Linked DNA regions of Homo sapiens: all the other regions are linked to region 2. Evidence: promoter capture Hi-C in human tissues and cell types (Jung and others, 2019). All regions are on one chromosome and are shown on one strand. Each heading gives the region's core, a stretch centred on a gene start or on the middle of the fragment in contact. The rest is flanking DNA. Distances are from core to core; before and after follow the strand shown. Region 1 holds the start of FUBP3 (far upstream element binding protein 3). Region 2 holds the start of LAMC3 (laminin subunit gamma 3). Region 3 overlaps FUBP3 (far upstream element binding protein 3). Region 4 holds the start of PRDM12 (PR/SET domain 12). Region 5 has its middle 50 kb from the start of EXOSC2.

Region 1 (3,689 bases), core at 1,139-3,638, 430 kb before region 2:
CACCCGGCCGAATTTTTCTTTTTTAACCTCTAAGAATCTTTCCCTGTCTTCTTTGGACAAGATCATCTCATTCATTCATTTCACAAATACTGAGAGCCAACCAAATGCCAGGCATTGGTGCTAGGTGGTAGGGAGAGCAATTAACAAGACAAACATAGACCTTATGTCAGCAGAGGCTTTATTCTAGTGGAAAAGGCAGACAATAAACATATAACTGCATGATGATTTAAAAGCAACTGTGATAAGTGCTATAACAAGATGATGAAGTCTAGGGTGTTAGTAGAACAATTAACAGTGAACATGACAAGCTCAGGGTCATCTTCATCTTCTGTGCCCCCAAATATAAGTGACCTGCTCAAAGTTAACCAGTAAAAGAGGGGAAAACAAAACTGTCTTCCTACTTAGGGATTCTCTGGTCTTTGGACCAAACCTTGGAATACAACTTACATTTGGGCCAATAGCCTTGTTTTCCCTATTTATACTCATAGGGAAAGCCAGCTGGAATATGCATGAATCAACATTCTAACCTCAGAGATATATTTCTAAAATTCAAAACAGAAGTTATCACTGATACTTGGTTCAGCTGAACGACTGTGTTCATGAAAGTTGATACCATTGCCATTCCTTGATTTTTACAAGCATAGCAAACTTAAAACGCTCAACACACCCAGAATGGGCAATAAATGGATGTGTTGGCATGGTCCTCCTCGTGCTGGCACTTCAACAACACAGCAAGCTATGTACTTTTGAACAGGGGTTGGAACATTTTTTCTGAAAGCAATCTTCAATCTTGCAATTTTGCCAAATTCTTTTATTTTGCCATAATCTATGAATTATTCTACTTGGCATTATTGAATGCAAAATAAGTTTACTAAGCACCTACTATGTGCCACACCCTAGGGATACAGGGAAAAATAAGTCTCTGCTCTAAAGTAACTCACAGTCTAGGAAAGAAGTCATTAACAAATAAATAACTATACTTTGGTTATTGGTCAAGTATTCCTCATACTTCTTTAGAATGCCCAAAGCTCTCTTGGCATAATGACACAGTGAGGGGTGAGGGTGGGGTCATCAAGGAAAGTTATATGGGACTTTTTTCCCCAAGAAAGGGTCTTGCTCTGTCACCCACGCTGTACTGCAGTGGCGTGATCATAGCTCACTGCAGCCTTGACCTCCAGGGCTCAGGTGATCCTCCCACTCCAGCCTCCCAAGTAGCTGGGACTACAGGTGTTTGCCACCACGCCCAGCTAATTATATTTTTTGTAGAGACGGGGTCTCACTATGCTGCCTAGGCTGGTCTTGAATTTCTGGGCTCAAGAGTTCTGCCTGCCTTGGCCTCCCAAACTGCTAAGATTACAGGCGTGAGCTACCGCACCCGGCCCGTATTGGATTTTATTTATTTCCTTTTCTTGGTGCTCATCCTCCTTCACAACTTCAAGATGGGCATAAGATGTTTGACAACATGGTTCTTCATTAAGTCCAACTCCTTATCATAATAGGGCTTGGGAAATATTAAACACGAGGGCAATCGTGCTAACACAAAAATGGGCGCCCCCTAAACCTTGTTACTTGTTTGCTCACTTATAAGAAGAGCCAACTCAAAGGCTCAACTGAATTCTAGCACTAAGATTCCTTCCTTGCTGTAGAAGATCTGTACCTGGTCACTTCCATTAAAGTTACATAGGCGTTCCAAGAAGCCTCCTGCAATACAGTTGTGACTCAGCCGGTATGGGAGTAATGACGGTCCTGTGGTATTTCCTGCACCCCCAGAGTCCCAGAGTTTGTTAAGGACCGTGTAAGAGGACACCACGCTGGCTTTTCAGTGGGCGCGTCTCTCCTGGGGGCATCACCAGACAACCCCAGGCGGAAGTGGCGGTGGCCCATCCTCATGCAAACTGCAGTGTAAGAACTGGGGCCCGGGACTCCTCGCAAATGTGGGACACTGACATTCTGTGATGCTGTCCCAATGCCCTTTCAAAGCGCTCAGCCCCCAAATTCCCAACCAACAGCCATTTCAGGGAGGGGCTACCCAGGACCAGGCTTTTGATGAACCACGACTGTTCGGGGTGCCGTCTTGGGAGAGCCACGTCAGTCCCTCTGAGATTCCAAACGGCCGACAGCGGACACCTCGGGACCACATCCAAGCCTCGGGGACCTGTCAAGACGCCATCGACGGTCCTGGACCAAATCCCGCCCGGGAAGGGAAGGGTCGCGACCGGACCCTGGAGACCCACGGCTGCCTGGCGATCTGAGCCCACCCCGGCGCTGCCGTCCCGCCCCCACTTCCGATCGGTCGAAGGTCACGTGCCCTGACCCCGCCCCGCAGACGCGACTCCTCCAGCTGCGAGCGTCCCGGCTTTCCCTTCCGCCGGAAGTAGGGCGACTTTCCTTTTCCGGCTACGGGTCCCCAAGCGGAGCGGGAGGCCGGACCGGGGAGCCGAGCGGCGGCGTCGGCGGCGTCGGCGGCGGCGGCGACGGCGGCGGGGGCGGTAATGGCGGAGCTGGTGCAGGGGCAGAGCGCTCCTGTGGGGATGAAGGCCGAGGGCTTCGTGGATGCCCTGCACCGGGTCCGGCAGGTACGGGCGCAGCCGGCTGGCAGGAGCACGAGATCCCGAGGCGGGGCCTGGCGGGCGGGGAAGAGGGGTTCGGGCCTGGGGGGCGGGAGGCAGCCTGAACCGACGTCTCAGCCGGGCCGGGCCGTTCCGTGGAGTTCCTACAGCCGGGAGGAGCCGGGGGGATAAGGCGCCACTGCGAGGCCCAGGCCCGGCCTGTCGGGCGGGTCTCCCAGGTGCCTGAAGTCGCTGGGAAAGGGTTTGCTTAGAGCGTCTGGCCCCATCGTGCCCCAGCGGCCAGCCTGGACCCACAGTGTAGCTAGCGCGGGGTTCTGAACCTCGCGAGGGGAGGGGTCCGGGAAGCCCACGGGGAGGATCTGGGTGTAGACATAAAGCAGCTGTCTGACGCCCAGTAGCTTGTTAAAACTTGGGGAACATCGTCTTTAGACTTTCTGTTGAGTAGAAGGAACTCGAGGGCATCTTATATGTGAGGGTGCTCTTTGGAGAGGTGAGAGAGGGAGGTGTTACATGTGTGGGGGTGGTCCCCAAGATGTAGAAATTTCTCATGGCAAGCTTGCCTCTACTGGGGAGAATGATATGGCCTCATTCCGACATTGAAACTTTACTGTCTGACAATGTCGTGCATTTAATCAAAGTTAAATTAACTGGGTTTTAGAAGGCTCCAGGCTTCCCCAGAGAGTGAATATGGGACCTGCCAAAAATACTTACTGGCTTCTGGCATGGTACTTAGAACAGAACGTGTTCTTCATTTGTATCTAAAACTTACTTACAAGTCAGCCCTAACACTTCAGCTTCCTCGGTTAAGTGTCTTATGTCCTCCTCTCTTCTTATGTAATTGTAAGCGCACTGATACTTTAAAAGTTGGGCTATAACTAATTACTGCTTGATTCCTAACAGAAAGCCACAGGAGTCATTGTATTAGAAGAAGGTCTTCACTCGGGCGCTTGAAGATATGGTCTTTACATCTCTTTCCAGTATTCCAGGGGAGGGAACCCTACCTGTTTCCCTGATAACTGACTTTTCATGTTATATATTGATGCTCCTATAGACATTATATTGGATCCCAGAACTTTCCAAACCTGTGGTTCCACCTAAAATTTTATCTGATGAATTGTT
Region 2 (3,560 bases), core at 648-3,147:
TGCCTCAGCCTTCCAAGTAGCTGGGATTACAGGTGTGCCACAATGCCTGGCTAATTTTTGTATTTTTAGTGGAGATGGGGTTTCACCATATTGCCCAGGCTGGTCTCGAACTCATGACCTCAGGTGATCTGCCTGCCTCAGCCTCCCAAAGTGCTGGGATTACAGGCGTGAGCCACCGCACCCAGCCAGAAAATGCCTATTGCTGGCATTGGTTTTCGTACTCTATCCTGTAGTCAGCCATCTTACGGAGCTCTTATTAATTTTAATAGTCTTAGTAGAATCTTTTAGATTTTCTAGATGTATGTTCAGGTAAGTAGAAGATATAAATATTTATATCTTTTAAGTTTTTTGTCTTATTGTATTAGCTAGAACTTCCAAAATAACCTTAGGTACCAGTGGTGATATCATATACTAACTCTACTTAGATATAGTTCTGAAATCTCTAACTTATTCCATGGGTCTATTCTGTAGTCCTTTCCACAACCGTATTGTTTTAATCATGTGTAAATAACTGGTAGTGAATCAGCCCACTACAGTTCATCTTGCTTCCAAAAATTTTCTTTCTTTCTTTTCTTTCTTTTTTTTTTTTTTGATGGAGTTTCTCTCTTGTTGCCCAGGCTGGAGTGCAATGGCATGATCTCAGTTCACTGCAACTTCTGCCCCCCGGGTTCAAACAATTCTCCTGCCTCAGCCTCCTGAGTAGCTGGGATTACAGGCACGCACCGCCACACCCAGCTAATTTTTGTGTTTTTAGTAGAGACGGGGTTTCACTATGTTGGCCAGGCTGGTCTCGAACTCCTGACCTCAGGTGATCTGCCTTCCTCAACTTCCCAAAATGCTGGGATTATAGGCGAGAGCCACCGCGCCAGGCCAGGAAATTTATTTCTATTTTCCTTAGAGTTCGTCTGGGAATGGCTGCCTTTTTTTTTTTTTTTTTTTCGAGACAGGGTCTGACTCTGTTGGCCAGGCTGGAGTGCAATGGCATGATCACAGCCCACTGCAGCCTAACCTCCCGGGCTCAAGGGATCCTTCCACCTCAGCCTCCCAGGTAGCTGGGACTACAGGCTTGTGCCATGACGCCGGGCTAATTTTTGTATTTTTTTGTAGAGATAGGGTCTCACTATTTTGCCCAGGTTGGTCTCGAACTCCTGGCCTCAAGTTATCCTTCCGCCTCCACCTCCCAAAGTGCTAGGATTACAGGCGTGAGCCACCGCGCACGACCTGGCTGCTAAATTTTATCGAATGACTTCTCTCCCTCGATTTGCTAATGTTAATAAATGGGGAGTAAAGGGGGCATTTATGGGGGTTGGGGCAGAAGACAAGGAAGCCCTCTCTGAGGTGACATTTGTGATAAGACCAGGTACCCTTGTCACAAATGTCAGGTTAGAATCTCTTTGCTGTGGGGACAGAGCGCAGCCGGCAGCAGGAGTGCTTTTCAGGGTTAAGGGCGACAGGAGCTATGCGGAGCCATCTCACAACCCTGTCCAGGGCACACTTTATTGCTAGGAGGAGATGCGCAAACGGTAGCGATCAGTTAGAGATAGATCCTCTTGTCCCCTTTTATCTCAGGACTCCAAGGCACTGCTGAACAGTTTCTGTTTAATGAGCAGCCATTGAAGCCTCCCAATGGCGAGAATGAGCCTGCATCTTTACCGACCCCACTCCACAGACGAGGAAACTGAGGCTCAAAGAGGCCCGGGTCGCCTCTGGGGCAGACTCCCGAGCCGCGCACTGCCGGGCACGTCCAGCAGGTGGGAGTGGGCGCCCGGGGACGGCGCGGTCCCTGGTATTTTTAGTGGGGTGGGGCCGCCGCCGCCCGCCCCTCCCTCCAGCCTCCCCGCCCCGCAGGGGAAGGCGGGTCCTGGCGGCCAGCGCGCGGTCCGCGCCCACCCTAGCCGAGCGGGGCCGGCAGAGCGCGCGGCGTCGGTGCCCTTGACCATGGCGGCGGCTGCGCTTCTGCTGGGGCTGGCGCTGCTGGCACCGCGGGCGGCCGGCGCGGGCATGGGCGCGTGCTATGACGGCGCAGGGCGCCCGCAGCGCTGCCTGCCGGTGTTCGAGAACGCGGCGTTTGGGCGGCTCGCCCAGGCCTCGCACACGTGCGGCAGCCCGCCCGAGGACTTCTGTCCCCACGTGGGCGCCGCGGGCGCGGGGGCTCATTGCCAGCGCTGCGACGCCGCCGACCCCCAGCGCCACCACAACGCCTCCTACCTCACCGACTTCCACAGCCAGGACGAGAGCACCTGGTGGCAGAGCCCGTCCATGGCCTTCGGCGTGCAGTACCCCACCTCGGTCAACATCACCCTCCGCCTAGGTAAGCGCGGGCTGGGGGCACCGCCACCGCACCCCGTGTCCCCACTCCACTGGGGGTCTGAGGCTGAGGCCTGAGCTGCTGTGCGCCCAGGTTGGGCTGCAGGACCCAGATATGGTGTTGGATGGAGGGGCTCAGAAATAGGAATTAGGCTGGGTGCGGTGGCTCACTCCTGAAATCCCAGCACTTTGGGAGGCCGAGATGGGAGGGTCGCTTGAGCCCAGGAGTTCAAGATCAGCCTGGGCAACGTAGTGAGATCCCATCTTTACAAAAAATAAAGAAAAATAGGCCGGGCGCGGTGGCTGACGTCTGTAATCCCAGCACTTTGGGAGGCCGAGGCGGGCGGATCACCTGAGGTCAGGAGTTCGAGACCAGCCTGGCCAACATGGTGAAAACCCGTCTCTACTAAAAATAGAAAATTTGGCCGGGCGTGGTGGTAGGTGCCTGTAGTTCCAGCTACTCAGGAGGCTGGGGCAGGAGAATCGCTTGAACCCGGGAGGTGGAGGTTGCCGTGAGCCGAGGTCGCACCACCGTTCTCCAGCCTGGGCAACAGAGCTAACTCCGTCTCAAAAAAAAAAAAAAAAAAAAAAAAAAGCTGGGCGTGGTGGTGCACACCTATGGTCCCAGCTACTCAAGAGGCTGAGGCAGGAGGATCACTTAAGACTGAGAGGTTGAGGCTGCATGAAATATGATAGTGCCACTGTGCTACAGCCTGGGCTACAGAGTGAGACCTTATCTCTTAATAAAAAGAAAGAATGAAAAAAAGAAGAAAAAAAAACAGGACCTGTACCCCTAGATAGCCAGAAGGATAGACTGAGGGGTGCCCCGTGGGGCGGGAGAGGCAGGGAGTCACTTGCTGAGCTTTGGTTCTAGGTTGCAATTATAATCCCCTGTAATGGTTTTCCATCCTAGACCAGAACTGTTGGGGAGGTGACACACCAAGGACTGAATTGGTCACCCTCTAGGGCAGGGGCTCCTGATCTTGGGTCTTCTGGTCAACTTCAGGTATTCAGTGGACCCCTGAAGCTGCCTGCAGTCCTCGGGTGGGTTCTGGAAGATAGAAGCTGTGATGTTCATCACTGCACAGGCAAAGTTTAACCCTCTGGGGAGGAGGACTAAGTTTCTTCGTGCTGCTGGGCAGCTGCGCCCGGTGGCATGGCCTCTCTGCCCTGCTCATGACTTGCCGAGGTGCAGAAGCCCTTAGATCTCCAGGAATCAGAATCTGGAGTCTGGACCCAGCCCCGGTTCTCAG
Region 3 (4,118 bases), core at 1,198-3,697, 400 kb before region 2:
AGCCAGCTAGGTAAAATAGTATTCATTTTCCACAAAAATGAATGAGCTAAACCTGCAGCATCAATGTTGTGACAAAAATATAACTCGAGCTCATGTACAATGCCTGTTACATTCTTCGCAGCTGTTAATAGGGAAGAAAAGTAGTTGCCAAATTAAAAGAGGATTCATAGGTTTCCAGAGTTCAACTTGATGGTAGAACCTCTCTCGAATACAGTTTGGGAGTGTCACAAAACTAAACATGCACTTACGCACAGTCCACAACTGCACTGTTGGGCATTTATCCCCAAGAAAGGAAAATGTTCACACAAGAGCCTGTTCACATAGCAGCTTTATTCATAATAGTCCCAAACTGAAAACAGCCCACGTGTCCTTCAACTGATGAATGGTTCTGCTTGCGATACAGCCATACCGTGGAATATCACTCAGCGGTAAAACGGAACAAATGCTGAGTACATCCAGCAACTTGGATCAATCTCCAGGGAATTATGCCGAGTGCCAGAAACCAATCCCAAAAAACTACATACTGCATGATCCCCTTTATGTAACCTTTTGGGAACGGAGAACAGATTAGTGGTTGCCAGTGGTTAGGGATTGAGTCGGAGGAGAGGGGGTCACCTAAGATCACAGCTAGAAGGGAACCTGAAGCTTAAACTCCTTATTGTTGTAGATAAGGAAACCAGTGTCTCTGAAGAAGTAAGTGGTTTGACCAAGGCCAGATAGATACATGATAAGTGACAGAAGGGAGGTTGAACCTGGGTCTCTGTCTCATGTGCCATAATAGTATAGTACTTAAACATGTGGACTTCAGAGTCTGACAGATCAAGGTTTGAATCCCAGCTTTGCTAGTCATTAGCTGTTTGACCTTGGGCAAGTTCCTTAACGTCTCTGAGCCTGTGTTTCCTCATCTGTACAATGGACCTGATGATACCTGCCTCATCAGATTATCATGAGGGTTATATCATGTTATTTTCAAGCTTTAAGAAATACTACTCCCGGGCCTGGCATGGTTGCTCATGCTTGTAATCCCCTTTGGGAGGCCAAGGCAGACAGATCAACGAGGTCAGGAGATTGAAACCATCCTGGCCAACAAGGTGAAACCCCGCCTCTATTAAAATACAAAAAAATTAGCTGGGCATGGTGGTGCGCGCCTTTAGTCCCAGCTACTCGGGAGGCTGAGGCAGGGGAATCACTTGAACCCAGGAGGTGGAGATTGCAGTGAGCCGAGATCGTGCCACTGCACTCCAGCCTGGCGACAGAGCAAGACTCTGTCTCAAACAAAAAAAAAAAAAAAGAAAGAAATACCACTCCCAATGTGAGAAAAACTGTTTCCATCAGAACTAGTTAGTACAGACATATTAAAACACATATGTGACTGAAATGAAAGTTTTATGAAATACATTACCCTTATTATATATGGTACATTCTGTTTTCTATTTCATTTTTATTAATAAAGCTGGTTGTGACCCCCTATATTGATTTCATGACACTGGCGTAAATGAAAGTAAAGCTTAGGGCTATGAATATACTATCATAGAATTCTTTTTCCTCTTAGGCTCTTGAGGAGAAGGTGCAGGGCCCAACACGTCCCTGGAGGCTAGGGTAGGCCCCCTCATCTGTTGCCTTCTGCCTTCCCTGCTAGACTGTAAGCTCCCTGAGGGCAAAGGTGGCTTTGTTGACTGTTGTATCCTCAGGTCCTGTCACAGTGCTCAGCACCTGGAAGGCGCTGACTTGTGAGATGAAGAATGATCAAGAGAGTTAATAGCACAAAATTAAACAGTGATAAGTGTTGAAACCCACAAAATTAAAGGACAGGGGAAGATGAAGGGGTACAGAGTTTGCATGGGCACAGGCCCCTCGCCTGCATGCCACTCTGAGGGCTTGGGTGCAGTGTGATCGCACCTTCCTCTTCAGTAAGATGGGAATGGCAGTGACAGTAGCTGCCTCAAAGGTGGGTTCTTGTAGGACCAAGTGGGTTCACGCAGGTGAGGTGCCCAGGAAAGCACCTAGTGTGGCTGGGGGTGGTGGTCTTTCCACTCACAGAAGCTTACAGTAGACTACAAGTAAGAGTGATGTGATTGGCTGGGCACGGTGGCTCACACCTGTAATCCCAGCACTTTGGGAGGCCAAGGCAGGCGGATCACCTGATGTCAGGAGTTTGAGACCAGCTTGGCCAACATGGTAAAACCCCATCTCTACTAAAAGTACAAAAATTAGCCAGGCATGGCGGCACACACCTGTAATCCTGGCTACTTGGTAGGCTGAAGCAGGAGAATCGCACGAACCCGGGAGGCGGAGGTTGCAGTGAGCCGAGATCGCGCCGCTGCACTCCAGCCTGGGAGACAGAGCGAGACTCTGTCTCAAACAACAACAACAACAAAAAAGAGTGACATTATTGAGATAAACTTGAATTTACTTTCACTTTTTAAAAAATAATTTGCAAAATTAATAAATTATGCTTGCCAAAGGACTTTCAGCTGAACTCAGCATGTCAGTGTTTTGTGGCCCTGGAGCAAGAGTTGCTGCCTAGAACACAGGAAGCCTTTGTAGTGTCCCTGGGGGAAAAGCTTTCTAAAAACGCCCTGAATCCTCACCGCTAAGTGTGTGTTACTGACCTGAGCTGGGGTGTGGAAAGCCATTGGTCAGTCAGAGGAGACTGCAAATCCAAAGAAGAGGCAGAGGAGGGGGGATTGTTTTCAAAATCTAAAAAGGAAGATTTGGGTTATTTGTTTTTACAGTTATAAAAACTGGTATTCCTCTCTCCCCACCCCCCCCCAACAGACTCACTCACCTGCCTCTGGCCAGTGGTTCCGTGTGGGTGCCAGCCCGTGCTGGCTGTGCTGTCGTGAAGGAGGAATTGGCATTTTTGTTCCTTGTGCTGGGGTGGGAGTGGGGGTATAACTATTAAAGCTGATGTGGCCGGGCGCGGTGGCTCACGCCTGTAATCCCAGCACTTTGGGAGGCTAAAGTGGGCGGATCACCTGAGGTCGGGAGTTCGAGACCAGCCTGACCAACATGGAGAAACCCCGTCTCTACTAAAAATACAAAATTAGCCGGGCGTAGTGGCGCATGCCTGTAATCCCAGCTACTCGGGAAGCTGAGGTAGGAGAATCGCTTGAACCCAGGAGGCAGAGGTTGTGGTAAGCCGAGATCACGCCTTTGCACTCCAGCCTGGGCAAGAAGAGCGAGACTCTGTCTCAGGAAAAAAAAAAAGCTGATGTGTATTGCAAAGTTGCATGTATTTCCCAGTGCAGTTTTGTTTCTTTTGGAGGAGAAAAAAAAAATGAAATCTTTTTTTCTTCACTAATAGGGAAAAATGTGTCTGATCACCTTTTTTTGTGTTATTGTTTGTTTGATTGATTGATTTTTAAGATTGTTCTGCTCTGTCACCCAGGCTGGAGTGCAATGACACGATCCCAGCTCCCTGCAACTTCCACCTCCCCGGTTCATTGTGCATCAGCCTCCCGAGTAGCTGGGATTACAGATGTGCACCACCACACCCAGCTAATTTGTGTATTTTTTTTTTTTTTACTAGAGACAGGGTTTTGCCATGTTGGCCAGGCAGGTCTCGAACTCCTGGCCTCAAGTTATCTGCCTGCCTTGGCCTCCCAAAGTGCTGGGATTACAGGCATGAGTGACAGCACCTGACCTGACCTCCTTTTTTTTTTTTTTTAAGATTATTATTAAAATTGGCAGAGTATTACTCTTCAGAAAGAATTTATGATATCGTAGGATGACTCACAGCCCAGGCAGTTCGTATTATATAGTGCACAAGGGAAACGAGAACTACACCTGTATATGCTGGAATTGCTCCAACGGGACCTTTAGAAGCAAGAAGATGCATTGTCAACCAGCACACACCATTAGTGGAAACAGGACTGATTTTACCCAGCATTTTTCCTTTTTTACAGGAAAATGAGTGTAGTTCCATTCAATTGAATATGATAGGTGTTCCCATCTGCCTCCTTAGTGTGACCCCTCCTCATTGCGAAGACTGAGGAGAGGTTCCTGTTCCTGGAGTTGGACATAGAAGTTGGCCATATGAGTACCCAGCGCCCCTGATCTAACTGCTGGTTTTCATTTTTAGGCAGCAAATGGGAATGTTCCGAAGGGAATGAAAC
Region 4 (3,608 bases), core at 780-3,279, 340 kb before region 2:
CAGCCTCGGGCGGACCCGGACGCAGGGTCTGAAGGCCAGCTACCGCCGCCTTCCTCCCTTTGCGTCCCAACGGGGACGGGGGATGCCGGAGACTACTGGCAGGAACTGGGGACCAGGGGTCTGGAGTCTGGACGCCAGGTGTGAGACCCTCTTAGCCAAGGCGCGTCCGGGTGGTGGAGGGGCGTCTATGCCAACAGGCGTTTGGACAGGGTCTCGCTCATGGGAGGTCAGCTCGCTGTTCTTCCACCCAAGTCCTCCGCGCTGAGGAGAAGGTCTAGGGAGTCCACACAGTCCAGCGGAGACTAATCCGTGAGCCTGACCCACGCCGAGAGGGTCCAGGCACCTCTGTTAGCGGCATCTGAAATTGTAGGCTGGTGATGGGAGCCAGAAGTGCGGCAGGTGGGGTGAGCTCCCTCACCCAGCATGTCAGGGCCTGGGGTCCGAGGCTTGAGGCTGACACTGGGGAGCCGCGAAGCCTGCAGGAAGCGGGGCCTTCCGCTGGGCTCAGCAGCTACCTGCTTCGGGAGAGGGGATCGCTGGGCTCCGAGGTGCCTCGAAACCGCCGCAAAGCAAGTCTGCTCCTGGGATGATGGGCAGGAGGAATAGAGGAGAGGAAGGGAAAGAAGAGAGAGGCAGAGGAGAAAGAAAGAACTAGGAGGCAAGAAGGAAGGGGCGCCGCAACGCCACCGGCTTCCCGAGGTTGCAGCTCAGCAAGGAGCCGGAAAGCCGGGCCGCAAGCCGAACCCGCACTGAGGCCTCTCGCGGAGCTGCCTGCAGTTTCTGAGGGACTTCGCTCTCAGGCACGCCTGCTCCCACCTAGGAAGGGTCTCGGGACCCCTTTCAATCCCCCTATATCCCGTAGGAAATTCTTTTCCCAGAGACAGGCTGCCAGGGCGATTCCTGTCCGCCCATCTCGACCCCCGACCTGGCCCCGCAAGGGCCGGGAGCCTGGCCTTCCATGAAGCTGTCTCAGGCCGGGACCAGCCCCAGCCCCGACGGCCGCTGCGGCCCCGCCTCGGCAGCCCCGTGAGCCCGCGGAGGAGTTTCGCACCCGACCGTGCACAGCGACCGAGTTGGCGCGGCCCGTATGAAGCGAAGCGCCGGCTTCAGCAGCGCAGTCTGAGCAGGGGATCCGCGTGGCAACTAGGGCTGCGCGCGAGCTCGGGGCGACTGTGGCGGCCCGGGGAGTGCAGGGCCGGAGAGGGAAGAGGACGCGGGCTCTGGCCGGGGAGGGAGAGCGGTGCAGGGCTGGGCCGGCCAGCCGGGGCAGCAAAGTAAAGGTGAACGCCGGGCTGGGCCAGGCCGGTGAACATAGATCAGGCCTGAGGGGAGCGCGGGGCCCGAAGCCAGGCGTCCCCTCTTGTCTAGCCTGGTCCCTGGAGTCCTAGAGAGCCTCGCCGCACCCCCTCCCCTTCTCCGTCCCCTCCTCTCCTCAGAGCCGGCTGAGCCTCCCTCCCTGCCCTGCGCTTCCCACGGGGAGAGAAGGAAAAACAGGAGGGGGGAGGAAGGACCAGGAAGGGGAGAGAGGAGTGGAGGGGTACTGTTTGGAGCGGTCCGCGCGCCCCCGCCCCTCGCGCTCTCGCGACGAAGGCTCCTCGAGCCCAGCCGGGTACAACAAGTCTGTCCTCCGACGTCAGGGGGTCATTAATAACCAATTAGGAGGGTCACTGCGGCTCCTATAAAGGCGCTGAGATTTTGCCAAGGGGAAGACGGCCCCGGCCGAGTGTGCGAGAGGCTAGCGCGCGCCTGAGCCCCTTGCTGCCGCTTCCCTGCAACCACCCGCCTCTCACCCACCCTGCACCCCCCGCACCCGCCTCCGCCTCCACCCGCGTCTCTCCACCCTCCGCGCCGCCTTTGCCATCTCTACAGATTTCACCATCTCTCTTCCCCTCTCCCCCTCGTTCGCTTTCCTCCCAGTCGCCCCCTCACCTCCCGCTCCCTCCTGCGTCCTCCTCCTCTCCGTCCTCCCCCTGCTCTGGTTCCTTCTCCATCGCAGCGCTCTCCTCTCGCCCCTTGGGCTCCCCTCTCGCCCGCCCACCTCCCCCGTCGGCCCGGCCGTCCCCCGGCGCCGGGGAGCTCCGGGCCGCCCATGATGGGCTCCGTGCTCCCGGCTGAGGCCCTGGTGCTCAAGACCGGGCTGAAGGCGCCGGGACTGGCGCTGGCCGAGGTTATCACCTCCGACATCCTGCACAGCTTCCTGTACGGCCGCTGGCGCAACGTGCTCGGGGAGCAGCTCTTCGAGGACAAGAGCCACCACGCCAGCCCCAAGACAGCCTTCACCGCCGAGGTGCTGGCGCAGTCCTTCTCCGGCGGTGAGTCCAGCCGTCGGAGCCCGGCGCAATCCCTCCTCCCGGCGACCCCCATTCCCGTCCTGGCGATGCGCGAGACGCGGCTGGGATACCCGGCCTCGCTGCTACTCGCGCCAACCTGGGCTCTCCCGGCGCTCGGTGCACCTCAGTTTCCCCATGGGCCAAACCAGGACGCGAGCCACCAAGCAGCTCCGCAGCCCACCCGGCTCAAGGACCGACCCCGGCGACCCCGTCGCTCGGCCCCGACGCCCCCGCCGGCCCCTCCCTTCCCCTCCTGCGCTTGAGCTGGCGGGTTCCCGGCATTTACAGCCTTACTAGGCGTGTAATAGCAGTTGACTCAAAAAGAAGGGGTTTTAAATTCATTTAGTTAACTTGGGCTTGACCCACGAAAGTTCCCACTTAAACCAAGAACTTTAAAAGGCAGCCGGGGCTGGGGAGGGGGTGGAGGGAGGGCGGGCGGGGAGAAAAAGCCGCGGGGAGAGCGAGGGAGAGAAAGAGAGAGCGAGAAAAGTTTCTTTTCTTTAAGATGTCTCAAGTTCTTATTCCTCATTCATCAACCCGCAAACAATATCTTTCCCTGGCTCTGGCATCTCTGCGCGTCGCCCTCTTTTCCCCCTTTACGATTTCTGTTCCTCTCTTAATTTACCGTGAAGACTAATTCCACTTCCATTCACGCTATGTCAACCATCTAATCCCCCTTTTTTGTAAGGGGAATTCCTCGGCCCCTTTTAAACAAGTCCCCTCCGCATTGAGCTACAATTTACTGCTACAGCATTCTTCCAGGGCTAATGAATTTAGAATTAGCAATTTCTTTCGAATGGAGCCGAATGAATGCGATCACTTTAACAGCGTGACAAATTGCCCGCCGCGCCGCAATGGACACCGTTTAACCCCCCCCTTTCAGCCGGCCCGCTCGCCGGGTATTTTCCCAGGTAGCTTAGAGGGGAACCTTGTAAGACATGGAGGCCGCCCTTGTGCGCCTCGCCGCTTCCAGCCCTGCCGCAGATGCCCGACAGGGGAACCCTCGGGGAGCTGGGGGCCGCCGCGGCTCCTCCCCGCCCAGAGAGATGACATCGGGGTTTGTCTGAGCCCGGGCGCCGCCCTCCCTGGCACCCCAGGGCCTGGGAGCAGAGAGGGACTCGGGCGCGCCCGGGGTCACACAGCGAGCGCAGAGCCTGGCCAGCTGCTGCCGGTGCTTCTTTGGCACCTCCAACACCTGCCAGCCCGAGGTCTGTCCCCAGCGCTGATCACGGCCCGGCTCCTCTGCCAGTGCCCAGAGCCTGGACACACAGTGGGCTC
Region 5 (4,112 bases), core at 147-2,646, 270 kb before region 2:
GGATGCCATTTTGGGGATTATGCTCAGCAGTGAGTCACGTGAGATGCACACGTAGCTTTTCGGTGATTAATCCAGGTCAATGCCCTTACCCACATACTTCTGAGATGTACTGATGATGACTACATTTAAAGCTTTTTCTCCATTGGCTAGAAGTTGAGACCCATTTCAACAAAAGCACTTCCACCTCTCCTGAAGTGCATTGGGAAAACTGGAGGCCATTACTAGATTTACAGATGATGGGCCGTGCTTAAATAACCCATCTTAGCTAGACTCCAGGTTTCGTCACATATTCCCTACCTGTTGCTGCCATTGAGGGCTTTCTCTGTGCTAGGCACTACCAAATAATGCTTTGGTAACTTTGGTAATTTGGTAAACTTGGTAATTTGGTAAATTTGGTAATAAAGAGCCTTTATTCTAAAGTGCAAATCTAAGTTTGGGGTTCAGTAGCTCAAAACTCTCTGGTGGTTCCCATTATATAGAGTAACAGTCTTCATTTTAAAAAAGGTCATGTACCCTTATTAGAATTTTGTGAGCAAACAAATATGTGTGTATCGTATGTATGTTTATATGTATATCAGATGTACGCACATTAGTATGTGCTATTAAGATACTTTATATTATATAATATATACTGTATAATACCGTATATTATAAAGCATTCATAAAATGAAAATGAAGATGAAATAAATTGCATTGTAAATATTTAAAACTTTAAAAAATGCGTTACTGGTACAAAATTTTTTTGTTTCTAAAAAATTATTATTAATGAGCAATGGGACTGAATTTGCTTCACCGTTTTTTTAAAATCTTGATTTAACATTTGTCATACAGCTATTTTAACATCTTACACTAAAGTTGATTCTTGTTTTTTGGAGACAGAGTTTCGCTCTTGTTGCCCAGGCTAGAGTGCAGTGGCGTGATATCGGCTCACTGCAACTTCCATCTCCTGGGTTCAAGTGATTCTCCTGCCTCAGCCTCCCAAGTAGCCAGGATTACAGGCTTGCGCCACCATGCCCGGCTAATTTTTGTATTGTTAGTAGAGATGGGGTTTTGCCGTGTTAGCCAGGCTGGACTTGAACTCGTGACCTCAGGTGATCCACCCGTCTTGGCCTCCCAAAGTGCTGGGATTACAGGTGTGAGCCACCACGCCCAGCCTAGTTTATTCTTTTAATAGTGCTTGGGGGAGGTAGCCTCTAAGATGACCCCCAGTGATTCCCCACCTCCTGGTATTCCTGGCTCTTTTGCAAATGTCAATTCTAATTTGGTCCTAAGGTCTCTCTCTTGAGAGTGGCTATAGATTCTAGCCCTGCCCAGGAAAATAGGTTTGAATGCATTGGTCAGGTGAGACACAGAGCAGCACAGCAAGACACATGAAATAGCAGAAGTATTTTTATTACTTACTGATCCCAGAGAGGAGAGAGAGAGAATCCTGGGCCAAAACCTTTATTGGGAGTCCAGGGAGTTTCCCAAGTGGGTTTCCTAGGGCTATTATGTTACCGAAGCCAATAGTTCTAATTGATGGGTTTAAAGGGAGCAGGCACAAGCTTTGTGGGGGTCACGCTGTGATTGAGACATGGTCACTGTAGCATATTCATCTAGTACTTGTGGGGTCGGGGAACAAGAGGGGTGAGCCACATAGGCCCTATGTAGCTGTCCTGTAAAGAGGTAGGGGAGGTGGCCATCAAGAGGCATGGTGTTAGGCAGATGTCTGGAGTGGCCACATTGAGGGATTGGAAGCGGGTGTGTTTCTATGCTCCCTTAAGGATATTTTTGGAAACAACATGCTTGCTGCATACAAATATTCAAACATTTTATCTTTAAAACAAATTTTAGTACTGGTAACATTTATTAACTTTTTTTTTTTTCCTGTTCCCTAATTTGCTACCCAGCTTTTACATCAAAGCTCCTATCACAACCCTTCTTGTTTTTTTCTTTTTTTCCCTGAGACGGACTCGCTCTCTTTCGCTAGGCTGGGGTGCAGTGGCCACAATCTCGGCTCACTGCAACCTCTGCCTCCCGGGTTCAAGAGATTCTCCTGCCTCAGCCTCCCGAGTAACTGGGACTACAGGCGCATGCCACCATGCCCAGCTAATTTTTGTATTTTTAGTAGAGATGGGGTTTCACCGTGTTGGCCAGGATGGTCTCGATCTCTTGACCTCGTGATCCACCCGCCTCGGCCTCCCAAAGTGCTGGGATTACAGGGGTGAGCCACCACGCCTGGCCCCTTCTTGTTTTTGTAGCTTGTCACATGATGAATGCTTTTTACCCTGGGGGAGACCAAGACTTTGAGTAATAGTTTGCTTTTATAAGCCAGAATTTGTTCTACACATAGAAGGATAAAACTGTCTTTTCTGGCCAGGCGCAGTGGCTCACGCCTGTAATCCCAGCATTTTGGGGGGCCGAGGCAGGCGGATCACGAGGTCAGGAGATCGAGACCATCCTGGCTAATGTGATGAAATGCCATCTCTACTAAAAATACAAAAAAAAAAATTAGCCGAGCGTAGTGGTGGGCGCCTGTAGTTCCAGCTACTGGGGAGGCTGAGGCAGGAGAATGGCGTGAACCCAGGAGGCGGAGCTTGCAGTGAGCCAAGATCGCACCACTGCACTCCAGCCTGGGCGACAGAGTGAGACTCCGTCTCAAAAAAAAAAAAAAAAACAAAACTATCTTTTCTCTCTGGTTTCTTTGCTGTTCCTTTTCAGGAGAGAAATTACAATAGGATTGGTGGCCTAATGATGTAAGTGCCAAAGTTTCATTCGAGGTTTTGGGGTAGAATGTTTTTCAACTGTTTGCTTTTATCTGAGACAAAGTGGGCAAGGAATAAAGGTAGAGTGGTGAGAAGGGTGTTATCCCTTCCTGGGAACCTTTTTTTTTTTTTTTTTGAGGGGGGCAGAGTTTTGCTCTTGTTGCCCAGGCTGGAGGGCAATGGTGTGATCTCGGCTTACTGCAACCTCCACCTCCTGGGTTCAAGCGATTCTCCTGCTTCAGCCTCCCTAGTAGCTGGGATTACAGGCATGCGCCGCCACACCTGGCTAATTTTGTATTTTTAGTAGAGACAGGATTTCTCCATGTTGGTCAAGCTAGTCTTGAACTCCCGACCTCAGGTGATCTGCCTGCCTTAGCCTCCCAAAGTGCTGGGATTACAGGCGTGAGTCACTGTGCCCAGCCCTGGGAACCTTTTAATTGTCAACTGTGTAGGTGTTCATGCTGGCCTGCATAATAGAGCGCCTGCTGTTTGATTTTCAGTTTTCTGTAGAAGGAAAAAAAAAAATCAAACCAACAATAGCAAAACTCATGATACCTCCTGGTCTCTCTCTCCCTCTCCTCTGCTTGCATATTCTGGTCTATAACAGGAAATGGAACCTCCTGGAGTGAGGGGAAAATGACCTTCACATTTAGGTTTCTCACTCTAAAGTTATTTCTTAAATATTTTAGCCTGAGTTCTTTTAATAACAGACCTCAGCTCTAGTTCTTTGAAATGCATGTGGGAAAATGTTTATCAGTGTTGAAATCTGACATTTTTTTAATCTCATGAACTCCACAATTGTCTGATTATTAAAGTCCTGCTTACTTGACTGTGACTAAAATTCTACTTTCAGAAGAGTAGAATGTACCCCTACCAAATTGAAGATCAAATAAATAAAGTGGACCTGGAAAAGTAAGGCTTGCCATTGTGTGTCAAACCAGCCCTTCCCAGCTGTGGGCTTTGTACTTAACGGACTCAGAACGTGAATGGAAGTACAGACTCTGGAACATGTAGGAGCTGTTATCCCTTGCCAGTTTCATGCTTCACTGTCCATCTCCTGGCCAAATAGAGAGACAAGGGTGACATTAAAATCATGGGTTTATCTGAATTCAAATCTCAGCTGCTCACTTACTAACAGTATGACCGCAGACACCAGCAAAACGTCCCACTGCTGCTTATTTCCAAGCCTTTCCAAGGTCTTCTGGTCAGGGCAGATTCTTCTTTCTTGTTCCTAAATTTAAAGTTTCAAGAATTTAATGCGTTTTTTTTTTTTTAATGAATTTAATGCCTTTTGGGGGGTAGGTTTTCCTAATTTAACTTTATTTTTTTAAATTTTATTTTTAAATTAGTGAACAGTAAAATTGACTT

Evidence for each region. The method cuts DNA at HindIII sites, captures the fragments that hold promoters and counts their contacts. A contact is called where the count stands out against the background at its distance.
Region 1: a contact is called between the fragment with the promoter of FUBP3 here and the fragment with the promoter of LAMC3 in region 2, in 1 of the 25 tissues and cell types used here (lymphoblastoid cells).
Region 3: a fragment that was not itself captured here is called in contact with the fragment with the promoter of LAMC3 in region 2 in 2 of the 25 tissues and cell types used here (adrenal gland and dorsolateral prefrontal cortex).
Region 4: the fragment with the promoter of PRDM12 here is called in contact with the fragment with the promoter of LAMC3 in region 2 in 1 of the 25 tissues and cell types used here (pancreas).
Region 5: a fragment that was not itself captured here is called in contact with the fragment with the promoter of LAMC3 in region 2 in 5 of the 25 tissues and cell types used here (adrenal gland, aorta, dorsolateral prefrontal cortex and 2 more).

What each region holds. Positions count from the first base shown.
Region 1 is chr9:130,577,189-130,580,877 of GRCh38, forward strand. It overlaps FUBP3 (far upstream element binding protein 3), which reads left to right and starts at 2,389. Exons shown (of 19, transcript NM_003934.2): 1 at 2,389-2,576. The coding sequence starts at 2,493. It overlaps LOC100272217 (a long non-coding RNA gene), which reads right to left and starts at 2,306. Exons shown (of 1, transcript NR_027440.1): 1 at 162-2,306. It overlaps LOC124902286 (a long non-coding RNA gene), which reads left to right and starts at 2,652. Exons shown (of 2, transcript XR_007061818.1): 1 at 2,652-3,060; 2 at 3,471-3,689. RefSeq lists a silencer at 2,337-2,706. The HindIII fragment of the contact is 10,079 bases long and covers 1-3,689 here.
Region 2 is chr9:131,007,277-131,010,836 of GRCh38, forward strand. It overlaps LAMC3 (laminin subunit gamma 3), which reads left to right and starts at 1,898. Exons shown (of 28, transcript NM_006059.4): 1 at 1,898-2,311. The coding sequence starts at 1,939. The HindIII fragment of the contact is 10,117 bases long and covers 1-3,560 here.
Region 3 is chr9:130,603,625-130,607,742 of GRCh38, forward strand. All of the region lies in intron 2 of FUBP3 (far upstream element binding protein 3), which reads left to right. Among named protein-coding and RNA genes, the nearest start is that of MIR6856, 21 kb to the right of the region's middle. The HindIII fragment of the contact is 5,498 bases long and covers 1-4,118 here.
Region 4 is chr9:130,662,565-130,666,172 of GRCh38, forward strand. PRDM12 (PR/SET domain 12) reads left to right here and starts at 2,030. Exons shown (of 5, transcript NM_021619.3): 1 at 2,030-2,312. The coding sequence starts at 2,090. RefSeq lists enhancers at 472-1,313, 2,604-3,277. The HindIII fragment of the contact is 18,845 bases long and covers 1-3,608 here.
Region 5 is chr9:130,742,218-130,746,329 of GRCh38, forward strand. It overlaps a transcript of ABL1 not described here. Among named protein-coding and RNA genes, the nearest start is that of EXOSC2, 50 kb to the left of the region's middle. The HindIII fragment of the contact is 5,419 bases long and covers 1-4,106 here.